Linked DNA regions of Homo sapiens: all the other regions are linked to region 2. Evidence: promoter capture Hi-C in 16 types of primary human blood cells and fetal thymus (Javierre and others, 2016). All regions are on one chromosome and are shown on one strand. The core of a region is centred on a gene start or on the middle of the fragment in contact, and the rest is flanking DNA. Distances in the headings are between cores, read along the strand shown.

Region 1 (2,700 bases), core at 94-2,593, 370 kb before region 2:
TAAAAAAAAAAAAAAAAGCTTGTTTTGAGAAGAATCAACCTCCTTTTCATCATCAGCAATACAATAAAAGAAACAATTACCAAGACTCCACTATAATAATGTGGGCTTGGTTCCAAGGTCAAGAATCTTTTGAAACACCCCTGCTTGCTACAAGCAAATTTACTGAAAGAACAAAAAAGATAATAAGTGCTTCAACCCACCCAAATTACAGCGCCCAAACCCACACAAATTCAAATAGACTGGAATAAGTATCATTGAATAATTTAAGTTTTTATATCTAGCTTACTTTGTCAAATGTATTTTAATTATTTAAATTAATTCTATTTATTTAAGTAGAAATGTACTTTTTGTGTTATGATAATAGTCTGAATCCCTTTTTAATCCCTTTTTAATCAGTGCATATTGTAAATGGGTGCTACTTTATAGGATTTGGAGCATAATTTTAATATTTTAATATTTATAGAAATTTATGATGACTATAATTTTGCTTTTGTAACACATTATTGGTTATAATTTATATGATGCAAGATACTTGATAGAAAATTCAGACACCAATTATTATTCCTATAAGAAAATATGAGCTGTTTCCTAATTATCTACTTTAGGGTATGATTTGTGATTTGTTAGGCCCTGCAGGAATAAAAAAGTACAATCTATAGATATAACTATTTATGCTTTATTCTGGCTTGTTTTTTTTTTTCAGACAGGGTCTGGCTCTGTCACTCAGGCTGGAATGCAGTGGTACAACCTCCTGAGTAGCTGGGGCTACACGTGTGCACCACCATGCCTGGCTAGTTTTTTGTTTGTTTGTTTGTTTGTTTGTTTGTTTGTTTGTTGAGCCAGGGTCTCACTCTGTCTCCCAGGCTGGAGTGCAGCCTCCCAAAGTGCTGGGGTTACAGGCGTGAGCCACCCTGCACCACCGTGCCCAGCCTAATTTTTGTATTTTTTGTATTTTTTCATCATGTTGCCCATGCTGGCCTCAAACTCCTGACCTCAACTGATCCACCCGCCTCGGCCTCCCAAAATGCTGGGATTACAGATGTGAGCCACTGCACCTGGCCTAAAATCTGGTTTCTTAAAGGGACAAGAAATTTTTTCATTTGATCATATAAAATGTTACAGTGCTTAGCAAAGCCAGTCATGTTTTAAACTTTAAATGGTTTGGATGGGGGCTTCCTACCTCCCAGATTCAGGGCAGCACTGAGAGAGCTCAGAGGGCCTCCTAGAATGTAACTACCGTCATTCACAGCTGCTTAGTGGGTACCTTTGTGTAGGAGCCTTTTCAGAAAGCTGGGTGCTCAGGAAGACTTGCTGGTTAAAGAGCAGGAGTTGAGCCTGTTGCTCTCAGGGTCCCTGACCTGCCCTTCATGACTGCAGTGGGCATCTTCTGCCCTGAGCCCTGCTCAGGTATCCAGAGGGCCCCTCAGGAGAAAGGAAACCCTAAAGATTCCATTCATCTATCAGGGCTTCTGCAGGTCCAGAGAGTGTGGGGAGCCTTGGGGCTCTGCGGGAGAATCTCTTGCAAAGAGTCTCTGCAAGGGCCAGAGCAGCCTCTTTGGCCCAGAGAAGGCCCAGCCTACCGCACAGGAAGAGCGATGCATCTTCACCACGGGTTTGGCCAAAGACATTAGTCACTGGGCAGGAGCTGAGACTGATAAGCCCTGCCAGGTCCCCCGTGGAGACAGCCCTATGGAGCTAACTGGCCATCATCTGAGAGCCTTAAGAATATGCTTCCTCACCAGGTCAGATAATGCTTTCTGCCCCCACAGTCTCCTGGAGTGGGCATCTTAGATGGCCCACAGGCACTCACAAGGCTCTGGGGCCTCTTACAGAGTACAATGGGACCCCTGCCCCTGACCTTCAGGGCACCCACAGTGTGGTCCCAGCAGTCATCCCCTCCCCCACCTGACTCCCCTGCTCCAGCCAGGCCTTTCTCTGGCCCCGCAAAGCCATTTCCTCTTGAGGCCCTGACCTGGTTTGCGTGGGCATTCTCTCTCCTCCGCCCCTCACTGCCTCTGAGCCCTTGGCCTGCAGAGATCTCTGAATCCAGGCCACCTGCCTGCCTCCCTCATTGGGCAGAGGATCTGCTGCCATGAGCCCTCTCTCCCTGTTCTTCCCTACGTCTTCTTTGGCCCAGGAGCCCCTCGAGGGCCTGCCTGTGCCTTAGCCACCCACAGCCTTGGATGGAGGATGGCTTTTTTTTCATCTTTTCAGACAGAGTCTCCCTCTGTTCCCCAGGCTGGAGTGCATTGGGGCTATCTTGGCTCACTGCAGCCTCCGCCTCCTGGATTCAAGCAATTCTCTCACCTCGGCCTCCAGAGTAGCTGGGATTACAGGCGCCCACCACTACGCTCAGATAATTTTTTTCTATTTTTAGTAGAGACAGGGTTTCACCATGTTGCCAAGGCTGATCTCGAACTCCTGGCCTCCAGTGATGCACCTGCCTCGGCCTCCCAAAGTGCTGGGATTACAGGCATGAGCACCTGGCCCGAGGACAGCCTTAATATATGTGTGAGGACCGTAGTCATGAACGGCATTGGGGAAGAACTGAGTGGCTTGCATACCACTCTCGGTCTATTAAGTCAGGCTTCTAGCTCATCCCTCCTTCCCCTTCTGGGCCATTAGAATCCCCACATCCAAGGAAGGCTATGAGTCCAAGTTATTCAACAAAGCTTAACACTGAACTTGTGAATGCTTGTT
Region 2 (2,700 bases), core at 48-2,547:
GATGCCAGGAGCGAACTGGTGAGCCCAGCGCCCTGGGAAGAGGGCCGAGGGCGGGGCGGTGGTGCCGGGACCTCTGAGGTCCTGGGGATTTGGGGACCCTTGGGGTCCACATGCACCTGGCTGACCTGGCTGAAAGCCGCTGTCTCGGAGCCCCCCACAGCATTTTGTTCCCCTCCCGCTGGCCCGGGGGCCCCACCTTCCCACGGGTTCCCACGCTGCTGTGACTGCCCTGCCTCTACGACAAAAGCCAACGGGTCTTCAGTACTTTTATTAAAAAATAGTCACGCAGACAGTGCCCTGGTGGCTCTGCCCCGCATCCCAACTCTGGGGTGGGGGAAAGGGGTCAACGTTTTCGCAGCCCCAAACCGGGCCATCACTTGCCCACCGAGTCGAATATGATGCGGTTCTGCTCGGCGCGCTCCCGCTGGCTCTGCGTCCGCGCCAGCTCCAGCAGGGTCCGCAGCAGGTGAAAGGTGAGGTCAATGGACAGAGAAGGGTTGTCCCGCCGCGGCCGCTCGCCTGCCGTCCCGAGTCCCAATCGGCCGGGCCCCGCGCGGCGCGGGAAGCGCTCCGCCAGCAGCAAGAGGAGCGCGCGGGCCCCGCCACCCTGGTTCCGTGCCCCGGGGCTCCAGCGCAGACTCGGGTCCTGGACCCCGGCCGCCTCGGGGCTCCTCTGGCTGCTCCCAGGGCACAGCTGTACCAGGAGCAGCAGCGCGGCCAGCAGCGCTGCGCGTCCCGCCTGCCTCATGGTGCCGCCGGCCCTGGACACACAGGGGCAGCGCAGGGTGAGGTGCGCCTGGGACAGCTGCAGGCCGCCGCTCCCCTCCCCGCGCTCGCCCGGCGACCCCTCCGGCCGCCGCCCAATGCCCGCAGCCTGCCCTCCAGCCCCAGCCACTGCGCCAGTGCTGTTCCATCCCTTCCACCCAGCCTCCCTCCCCGGAGGAGCGTGGTGGCTGAGCTGAGCGGAGTCCTGGTGCAGGGGGAGGCTGGGCGGACGCTCTGAGCCACTCACAGGTTGTCGGCGAGCGTCTGTACGGTCCAAGATTGAGCTCCAGTCTCTGTCCCTCGGGGCAGGCTGAAGACGCCTTGGGGAACACAGGGTCTGTCCCGGGGCTGTCGCCAGCCTTATATAGTGCCAGGACAGCTCCGACTGACGTCAGCGAAGAACATGCACTGATTGTAGAAGCAATGACAGCCACAGCTTCGAGTCTGACGGCTGGCGGGCCCCCGGAGGGGCGCACCTCCCTACACCAGCCTTCGTGCCCCTGGGGCTAGCGCTGGAAGCAGCACTGGACGCAGGAAAGCGAGAAGCCGGCTGGGGCGTAAAGACTGCTCTGGGACCCACGGGAGTCCCTCGCCCCGCTTAGAACAGCCAGCAATGACTAGGGCCGTCCCCAGACCAGACTAGTCCGGGTCGCGTGTTCTGACACACGAAAGGGAGGCGGGACCGTGAGGCTGTCCATGGTGCTGACCCCGTCCTCTGCCTCTAGAAGTGGCCAGAAATGTGAGAACGCTGTGCCGCTGGAACCCACTGCCTCCCTGCAGCTATCAGTTCTGCAAATGCAGGCATCAGGAGTCCACCGCTGGCACTCAGCCAACACAGTGGGACCCACTGAGAGGCAGTCTGCCACAACCAAAGTCTCCCAGCATTCTTATCTTTTTCCAGCCCCAGGATCCAAATTGTAGGGCTGTCTGACAGGCACCATGTAACAGAGGGTCTCTAGCATCCGAGTGCTTTCAGACCACAAATGGCTGGCCCATCTGCTTTTGAGTTTGCCAAAGTAGTTTAGCAAAGTTCAGTTTCTCTCCTGGGAATCATAGCAGCAGTGTAACTCTGCCCATGAGCAGCAAAGAAATATGGGTTCAAGTTTCTGCTAACTCCTGGTGTGGACAGGTCACCTCCCTCCTACCAACCTCAGGGTCCTCATTTGTAAGACTGGGCTTGGCCAGGCGCGGTGGCTCACGCCTGTAATCCCAACACTTTGGGAGGCCGAGGCAGGCGGATCACGAGGTCAGTAGTTTGAAACCAGCCTGGCCAATATGGCGAAACCCCATCTCTACTAAAAATACAAAAATTAGCCGGGCGTGGCGGTATGCGCCTGTGGTCCCAGCTACTCAGGAGGCTGAGGCAGGAGAACTGCTTGAACCCAGGAGGCGGAAGCTGCAGTGAGGCAAGATCGCGCCACTGCACTCCAGCCTGGGAGACAGAGCAAGACCCTGTCTCAAAAAAAAAAAAAAAAAAAAAAAAAAAAATTGGGCTTGGTGGTCTCTTGGCTTCTTTCCAGCTCTAGAAATGACTCCCCAATAGTTTTCTGCTTAAAAACTTACTCATTACCACTGCAGATTCCGGATTACATATTTAATAACATATTTACTGAGGCACCATATAAAGGGTTCCGGGAGTCTCTAAAGAGCTGGAGCTACAAGAAGCCTAGGCAGGGTTAGAGTAACAAATGTGTCTATGAAGAGTGGGGATGAGTGGCATTTGCTGGGATATGGGTGTAAAGTTGATAAGGTCATGAAGGTTCAACAGATATTTATGGAGTGCCTAGTATGTGGTGGGAATAAGACTATTATCAAGGGCTCTAAAGCAGTCAGTGTACATTTTAGAGTGAAGAGGGGCATTGCAGGGTGCTAGTCCTCTTAAGCTCTGACCGGCAACCCAACCCCGTGGAAACTGGTATGCCCACTTTGAGGAGG
Region 3 (2,700 bases), core at 56-2,555, 330 kb before region 2:
AACTCTCTGAGCAGATCCCTACTGAGCCATGCCTCTCTGGCCTCTGTGAGTGAAGGTTCTTCCTCCAGACAGATAGAGTCCCTTGCTAGGAATGCAGTTTTGTGAGTGGAGCTTGGGTTCTACTCATTTTGTGAGGGTTCCAGCCCTCATCTCCTCCACAAGGTGCTTTGTGCAGTGTACAAAGTGTACAACTGTTTATAACAGCCCTGTTTCTCTCTTGCCTATTATGAAACTTGGCCTAAAGTCCTTTCCTCCTCTGACCCCTCTCTTTCTCATGTCCTCCTAGATCATTCACTTTGACTCTGACCCTGTCTAACACCCTGGGTTGTGGTCTTTATTCCACCTGCTGGATTCACATTACTTTCATGCTGCACAACTGAAGCCATTTACACAGCTCACCATGCAAAGCAGCCACAGGGGCTGATAGCAGGGGACTTAACTAGGTGGGAATATGTGGAAAGTCAGGTGCAGGAGTCAACCTGTGGAAACGGAAAAGCTAGGGCTGCTTTCTTTCCAGGGCCTTACACTGACATTACCTTGCCTGGACATTTTGTAGTCCCGTTTCATGAAAGCCAGGACCTAAGCAGAAGTATGGCTCCCTGCCAGTCCCTACCAGGAAGGAACAAACAGCTTGCAGTACAGGCCTCAAGCCAGGTGGGGCAGGAGCAAAAGTGCATTGTGTTGCCTGTGGAATTAAATGGACTCTCTATAAACACAGCCTCCTGCCACTGTTCTTTTCTCTTTCCACCTAGTCAGCCTACCTGAGAATAATTAGCCCTTGGCCTATAATTAGGTAGAATGATTATTTTACTACTGTTTATCCATTTCACTAGATAACTAGCTTCATGAGGCAGGGACCATGTGAGACCTAGCAGTATCTGGGGCTCAACAAATAATTGCAGAATGAATGGATTTCTAAGGCATATTTGTTGCTGTCCATCCTTAATGCTATGAAATGGTACCTAGGAGTGAGTATATAGTGACCATAGTAACTAACGAAAAAGCCCTCACATTTGTCCCTAATGGACAAGAGTGCCAGCAAAAGCAATGTTTTGGACTTCTCAAAGTCAAAACTCAGAGACTCTCAAGATTTGGAGTAGCATTGAAAATTAGGAAGGCCCAACCCAGCTCCTGTCAGAGGGAAATGGAAAGACATGAGAGGAAGATCCCACTACCGCTACCACTATCCTGTTCAATAAAGCCTCACTTGGGCAGAGTTAAGCTTCCAGTAAGACAGAGACAGAGATAGACATTCAGAGACGGAACCCACCACATAATCTGTGCTTGCATAAATTAAAAATCAAATGTGTAGTGGAGCCTTTCCGAAGGGTGCATTTCCCACTCTCCTAGGTATGGATGACTAGATCTTCCAGGAGCCCACTGGGTTCCAAGCTTAGGCTCCAGAACTCCTTTTCTCCATGCAGCACCCCCAACCCTGCCTAGCAACTCTCCCCAAGTACTGCTCTGCTTCCCCTGTGGCTTCTCAGACATGCAAGCCTCTGATTGAACTTCTCCTGGCCTGGAAGGCTTGATTTTTCAGGACCCAGCAAGGCACTGCTCTGGCCTCGTGGCTGTCCCAGGATGTGTTAGGAGGTCATAACACAAGAGGACTCATGCCTCTGAGGCCCTCTCGAAGGGTATTGAGAACTCAGTGATAATGCAGGCCCTGTCAAGGGTACTTAAGAAGATCCCATTTGTACCTTTATCTTTAAAATTCATCATTTGAACTCAGATGGTTCTCCCAGTATCTAGCTGTTCTGTGGAAATTATGTTGCTTGCCACCTAGAGCAGATGACCTCTTTGGGAGGCATTAGGAAATAACTAGTTGTTTTAAAGCTCCCAGAGCTGTTAGCTAAAAGATCTTATATATTCCTTTCAGCTTGGTTTTCTGGAATTGACAGCCTTTTCTAATTCCAAAGAGGCTGCCTGTCAGCTTCCTTAAGAAGCTTCCCAAGATACCCATTGAAGGCCCAAGGCAAGCAAAGAGAAACAACTGAGAAGCCTTTGACTCCAGGTGTCCCTGGGTAGCAGCTGCCCCTCACCCCGTCCCTTCCCCTTGTTGGGGATGTGAGGTTTGGAAAGAACTTCCTCAGATGACTGCCAAGTCCACAGTTATTCCTCTGAAGAACACTCGAGAATTTTTGCATCACTTGTCTCACCCTCACCCTAATAATGTTTGTGTCCATGCATTAGCTTTCCCATGAATTTAAATATATTTATATATTATTCTCAAAATCATTACGACCTTGCCCATATTTTCAGAGAAACTTGTAAGAGTGTTATGTGTTTAATGCCTTTAGTGTATAGTCATAATCAAAAACCCCTTGCTGGATGACAAATATAATTCAAAATTGCTTTTAGAATTAAATATTTATGAATTAAAACATTGCAGAAATGCACAATGCAAAAAGTAGAAGTCCTCCATAACTCTGTCCCCCAAAGAGAATCACTGCCACTATTTTGTTGAATATTCCAACTTTTTTCTACACACATACTAACATATTATTTTTTTTAAACATGGAATCTAACTATTTTTCATTTGTAGAAAAATTGGAAAAGATAGTAAAGAGTAAGTGAGAAAATTAGAACTACTTTTAATTCTACCACTCAGACAGCAGTGGCACCAGGGGGTGGTTTGGGTGGGCTTTAGCACTGCCCTCTTCCTGAAAGCTGCCCCAAGGAAACATATGCTCCAAATAC
Region 4 (2,700 bases), core at 45-2,544, 280 kb before region 2:
CAGATGCCTCAAGTCTGGGGCTCTCCATCGCTTCCCTGACACATCTGGAACTTGGGATTGACTCTTATGGTGGGAGGCAGAGCCTGTTCTTTCTCATTGCCTGGAAGGGGAAACCCGGCCCTGGCTGTCCCAGACCCCCAGACTTTTCTCAGCCTCCCATGAGAAGAACTCAGAGGCCAGGAGCGGTGGCTCACTCCTGTAATCCCAGCACTTTGGGAGGCTGAAGAGGGTGGATCACTGAGCCCAGGAGTTTGAGATCAGCCTGGGCAACACAGCAAAACCCAGTCTCTACAAAAAATACCAAAGATTAGCCGGGGGTGGTGGTGGGTCAGGTGATCCGTGGTGGGGGATCACCTGAGCCCTAGAAGTTGAGGCTGCAGTGAGTCGTGATCGCGCCACTGAACTCCAGCCTGGGCGACAAAGCAAGATCCTGTCTCAAAAAAAAAAAAAAAAATTATTCTCCATTCTCCACCTCCTACCCCAGCTCCCCAACACTCTGCCCTTTCCTCAAGCCCCCATCCTCTTCCTTGTTCTTTGGCAATAGATTTGTATAGCCCATTAAACCCGAGGTTTAATCACTAGCAACAGTAAAGCCAGCACTTTCCTAGAAGGAAGGAAGCATTTAATCTTCAATCTCTCCCTAGATATGAGGAGCACTACTTCCCTTCCATCCTTCCAGCTCTACGAGAAAGGAAAGAAAAACAGTGGCCGGGCGCCGTGGCTCACGCCTGTAATCCCAGCACTTTGGGAGGCTGAGGGGTGGGGGTGGGGTGGGTCACTTTAGGTCAGGAGTTCGAGACCAGCCTAGCCAACATGGCGAAACCCCGTCTCTACTAAAAATACAAAAATTAGCTGGGCTTGGCAGCGGGAGCCTGTAGTCCCTGCTACTCGGGACGCTGAGGCACGAGAGTCGCTTGAACCTGGGTGGCGGAAGTTACAGTGAGCTGAGATCGCGCTACTGCACTCCAGTCTGGGCGACAGAGCGCGGCCCTGGCAATCAATCAATCAATTGATCAATAAAGGAAAGAAAAACAGAAACAGTTCTACCAAGTCTCTCAATGCCGTGGCCTTCACATCGACGCTCAATGAACGTTCTCAGAAGGGAATCTCCTCTCCTCCCGGCCTCTTCGCCTGGGCGGGGGCCGCAGGCTGCCGCGGAAGCCTCTTCCCGATGCTCTTCGCTCAGGAGAGCCCGGCCCAGGAGAGGGACTACAAGTCCCAGGCTGCCTTGCGGCGGGCGCCGGGCGCCGGGCGCGCGGTCCTGCGAGGAGACGTGGCAGAGTGCGGCGCGCTCGCGCCGGACCGGAAAGCCGGGGAAGTGGCCGAGGAGGGAGGGCTGCGAGCCATGGCGACCAAGACGGCGGGCGTGGGGCGGTGGGAGGTAGTGAAGAAGGGTCGGCGGCCTGGGGTCGGCGCCGGCGCCGGCGGCCGAGGAGGCGGCAGGAACCGCAGGGCGCTCGGGGAAGCAAACGGAGTGTGGAAATACGACCTGACCCGTGAGTACCCGCCCTGCCCCGCCGCCTACCCCAGGCCTGTCCGGCAGGGTCGCAGCGAGCGGCTCCCAGAACCTGGGCGCGAGCTCGCAGGCACATCCCCGAGCGCCACGCTTGCGTTGTCTCTTTGGAGCCTCACGGGAGGCAGACAGCTCCAGGGAAGGTTGCGGTCCTCACCTCCCAGATGAGTAAACTGAGGCCCAGTGAAGTTGGATACCTTGGCCAGGGTCATGTGTCAGAGGGGCTAGGATTCCGGTCCTCAGACTCTCAGTTCACTGCACACACTCTCCCAGCTGCCCAGGGCCCTAGCTGGTCTCTCTGGGCAGGTGTCTGAGCTTTGAAGAGGTACTGTGGATCATTATACACGGTGCCCCCTCTTTAAGTAACCAGCAGGTCATGGAGGAAGGGACAGGAGGCCCAGCAGTGGGAGAAATGACCGCCACACACTCAACACTCACCAGGAATTATAAGTGACACCTGGTTCTTCCACTGAGGAGTGGAGAAAGATTGCCACTTGTTGATTATAGAGTTGTCATGTCGGAACCAAGAGGCGTTAGGGTAGGACCAAGATGGAAAAAGCTTGTCTTCCCAGACTAGTAGCCACTCACTGAATAAGGCAAACCTCTATATCCAACCTCTCTGCTTGTTCCTACATACTCTGATTTGTCTAATGAAGAACTGCCCCATCTTTATGAAAGAGCCCATAGACTCAAGAGCTGTAATGAAAGAAGCTACCAGGAGAACAGCCTGCCCTGCTCCTTAAGCAGTCCAAGAGGAAGGGGCTTTGAGACAGGCTCTTCCCTGGAGATGAATTAGGTGGCAGTGTGGGGAAAGGGACCACTGATAGGTGAGGCCTTGGGGACTCAAGGGTGGCCTGCCTTTCTCTACCTATCTTCACCCCAGCTGCAATCCAGACCACAAGCACCCTTTATGAGCGGGGCTTTGAGAATATCATGAAGCGGCAGAATAAGGAGCAGGTCCCACCCCCTGCTGTGGAACCTAAGAAACCAGGGAACAAGAAGCAGCCAAAGAAGGTGGCAACTCCTCCCAACCAAAACCAGAAGCAGGGCCGCTTCCGCAGCCTGGAGGAAGCACTGAAAGCTGTGAGTGTGCCTAGACATGAGACGCAGAAAGAATGGGGGCTTGAGATTTAGAGAAGATGAGAGGAGGGGGAGGTGGATGGGCAGCTGAGATCCTATGGGATTTG
Region 5 (2,700 bases), core at 168-2,667, 300 kb before region 2:
TGATGTGTTGCCCTTTGGTTATTTCGTTCAGTTGTCCAGCTCTCACCTAAGTTCATTAATTTCTCGAGGGCCCAGAGTGGGTTCATTTCTTCCTATAGGTCCTGTGCTGGCACAGGGGCTGGCACACAGCATTGGGTGCTGAAGCACACACTCCACAAATGGTGATGAGTGACTGATTGAATCTGAGGCTCTGCAATGTCCTTAGAAAGCAATTTTGTCTATTCTTCCTGCCTTAATACAGTAATTTTCCACAAAACCAAACATTAAAAAGGGCTCTGATTAACCACAGTTAAACAAAGTTAATCAATATGTACAACATTATTTTCCAAACATTCAACTTAGTTAAGACTTTATTATATAAACACATTTCTTATCTTGCTTTTCATTTGTGATACAGTGTTGTGAGTAGCTGGAGAAAGATCGTGAGTCGCACTCATGGGTCTTCTTGGACAGATAAAATCTAGAACTTGAGGGTAGGATATGGAGTCTGAAGGGGGATGGGTGAGATGTTGAGATAAGGAGCACAAGCCTACTTTTAATCTGTATTTCTTTTTTTTTTTTTTTTTTTGAGATGGAGTTTCACTCTTTGTTGCCCAGGCTGGGGTGCAGTGGTGTGATATTGGCTCACTGCAACCTCCACCTCCCGGGTTCAAGCCATTATCCTATCTCAGCCTCCCAAGAAGCTGAGATTACAGGTGCGTGTCACCATACCCAGCTAATTTTTGTATTTTTAGTAGGGGTGGGGTTTTGCCATGTTGGCCAGGCTGGTCTCGAACTCCTGACCTCAGGTGATCCACCTGTCTCGGCCTCCCAAAGTGCTGGGATTACAGGCATGAGCCACAGCACCCGGGCCCAATCTATATTTCATTTCAAATTTTAACTGAAAGAACCAAAATGCTCTCCACCCTGCAGGCAGTCACTCACTATCTACCTGAAGTGCTGCAGCAGACACACATGGCTGTGATGACAAATGCCTGATGTCCCTCTCCAGCTTCCTCCTGGGCAAGTGATCAAGGACTCCACAATCATCTGCAGGTCTAGCTGCTGTCCCCATACTCCAACAAAATGACTCAGAGTTTCATCATTTCTTATTGCACAATTTAATGACCATATCGCCACCTCTGGTCTGGTAGCTTCATTAAACAGGGCAGATGACCTCCTCTTTGAAAGTGGGCCCTCCCTTGGCTCCTAAGACATCACCTTCTCTCCACCTCCTCTATTTTCATCGCGTCCCTAACATTCCTCCAGGACTGAGTCATTGGTCTTATGCTCTTTTTTTAAAATAAAAGTAATAATAAATATGTTTCCCATGTCCAGAATTTCCCATTTTCTCCTCGCTGCTTTCTGGCATCCTGTCATCTTTAAAGGCCCAATTAGGTGCCACCTTCCTCCAGAAACCCTCTAACTGCTGATCCCCCTCTCATCTTTTTCATGTGCCTGGAACACTTAAAAGCCAAAGGTGCTTTCACTATTTAGCACTTCATATATTCTGCTTTGTGGCGTCCCTTGTTATTTTATAAATTACTCTTACCTCTTCAACCAAAGAAAAGCTCCTTAATAAAGACAAGACCCATGCCTTGAAATGATCCCATGTCCTCATGATGCCTCACTGGGTGTTGAGCATTTTGTCAGTGGTCAGTAAGCACTTGCTGGTCGAGATTAAGGCAATGCTAGGCCGGACCTGGTGGCTCATGCCTGTAATCCTAGCACTTTGGGAGGCTGAGGCAGGTGGATCACTTGAGGTCAGGAGTTCAAGACCAGCCTGGCCAATACGGTGAAACCTCATCTCTACTAAAAATACAAAAATTAGCTGGGTGTGGTGGCACACACCTGTAATCCCAGCTATTCGGGAGGCTGAGGCAGGAGGATTGCTTGAACCAGGGAGGTATAGGTTGCAGTGAGCTGAGATCATGCCATTGTACTCCAGCCTGGGCAACAAAGCGAGACTCCATCTCAAAAAAAAAAAAAAAAAAAGAAAGAGAGAGGTTAAGGCAATGCTGCAATGTCTTGAAAAAATAAGTATAAAGAAGAAAACTGGGCCAGGCATGGTGGCTCATGCCTGTAATCCCAACACTTTGGGAGGCCGAGGCAGGCAGATCACAAGGTAAAAAGTTTGAGACCAGCCTGGCCAATATGGTGGCCCCATCTCTACTAAGAATACAAAAATTAGCCAAGCATGGTGATGGACGCCTGTAATCCCAGCTACTCGGGAGGCTGAGGCAGGAGAATTGCTTGAACCTGGGAGGTGGAGGTTGCAGTGAGCCGAGATCATGCCACTGCACTCCAGCCTGGGTGACAGAGCAAGACTCCATCTCAAAAAAAAAAAAAAGAAGAAGAAGAAGAAATCCTCTGAAATTCCCTTTCCCTCCTCCTAATTCTCAAGGGGTGAAATCTGGGCAAGTCATCCTGCTCTAGAGCTGTGAAAAATCAAATCGTCCTTCCTGCACCAGTGTGGTGGTGTGGAAAGAGCATGGGATTTGTGTTCATTTGGCCAGGTTCAGCTCTGATCTTGCCAGTGGTTGATCTTGAACTTGGAAAAGTCACTGGAATCCTCATCCTTCATTTCCTCAAAAGCAAAATTGAGGTAACAACTCAAAGGCTTTCTGGAGCTGGATGCTGTAATCCACAAGAGTGGCATTTCTGGTGGGAATTTCGGGCACTATGGTAGGGCAGGAGAGAAGCTATCTGCAGGCCTTCTGG

What was found. The method cuts DNA at HindIII sites, captures the fragments that hold promoters and counts their contacts. A CHiCAGO score of 5 or more calls a contact.
Region 1: a fragment that was not itself captured here is called in contact with the fragment with the promoter of UCN in region 2 in 2 of 17 cell types (neutrophils and total B cells); the score reaches 6.3 in neutrophils.
Region 3: a contact is called between a fragment that was not itself captured here and the fragment with the promoter of UCN in region 2, in 7 of 17 cell types (total B cells, naive B cells, activated CD4 T cells and 4 more). The highest score is 9.2, in total B cells.
Region 4: a contact is called between the fragment with the promoter of TMEM214 here and the fragment with the promoter of UCN in region 2, in 12 of 17 cell types (erythroblasts, total B cells, naive CD8 T cells and 9 more). The highest score is 8.5, in erythroblasts.
Region 5: a fragment that was not itself captured here is called in contact with the fragment with the promoter of UCN in region 2 in 1 of 17 cell types (total B cells); the score reaches 5.2 in total B cells.

The regions. Positions count from the first base shown.
Region 1 is chr2:26,936,945-26,939,644 of GRCh38, forward strand. The region is part of intron 8 of DPYSL5 (dihydropyrimidinase like 5); the gene reads left to right. Among named protein-coding and RNA genes, the nearest start is that of MAPRE3, 32 kb to the right of the region's middle. The HindIII fragment of the contact is 2,654 bases long and covers 17-2,670 here.
Region 2 is chr2:27,307,148-27,309,847 of GRCh38, forward strand. UCN (urocortin) reads right to left here and starts at 1,298. Exons shown (of 2, transcript NM_003353.4): 1 at 1,013-1,298; 2 at 253-761. The coding sequence starts at 748. The coding sequence ends at 374. TRIM54 (tripartite motif containing 54) reads left to right here. Exons shown (of 9, transcript NM_187841.3): 9 at 1-288. MPV17 (mitochondrial inner membrane protein MPV17) reads right to left here. Exons shown (of 8, transcript NM_002437.5): 8 at 2,345-2,700. The HindIII fragment of the contact is 26,108 bases long and covers 1-2,700 here.
Region 3 is chr2:26,981,901-26,984,600 of GRCh38, forward strand. The region is part of intron 1 of MAPRE3 (microtubule associated protein RP/EB family member 3); the gene reads left to right. Among named protein-coding and RNA genes, the nearest start is that of MAPRE3, 13 kb to the left of the region's middle. RefSeq lists an enhancer at 687-746. The HindIII fragment of the contact is 170 bases long and covers 1,221-1,390 here.
Region 4 is chr2:27,031,671-27,034,370 of GRCh38, forward strand. TMEM214 (transmembrane protein 214) reads left to right here and starts at 1,295. Exons shown (of 17, transcript NM_017727.5): 1 at 1,295-1,496; 2 at 2,397-2,596. The coding sequence starts at 1,346. RefSeq lists an enhancer at 918-1,207. The HindIII fragment of the contact is 3,121 bases long and covers 1-2,070 here.
Region 5 is chr2:27,009,891-27,012,590 of GRCh38, forward strand. All of the region lies in intron 1 of MAPRE3 (microtubule associated protein RP/EB family member 3), which reads left to right. The region is part of intron 1 of MAPRE3-AS1 (MAPRE3 antisense RNA 1); the gene reads right to left. Among named protein-coding and RNA genes, the nearest start is that of MAPRE3-AS1, 3.3 kb to the right of the region's middle. The HindIII fragment of the contact is 2,957 bases long and covers 1-2,700 here.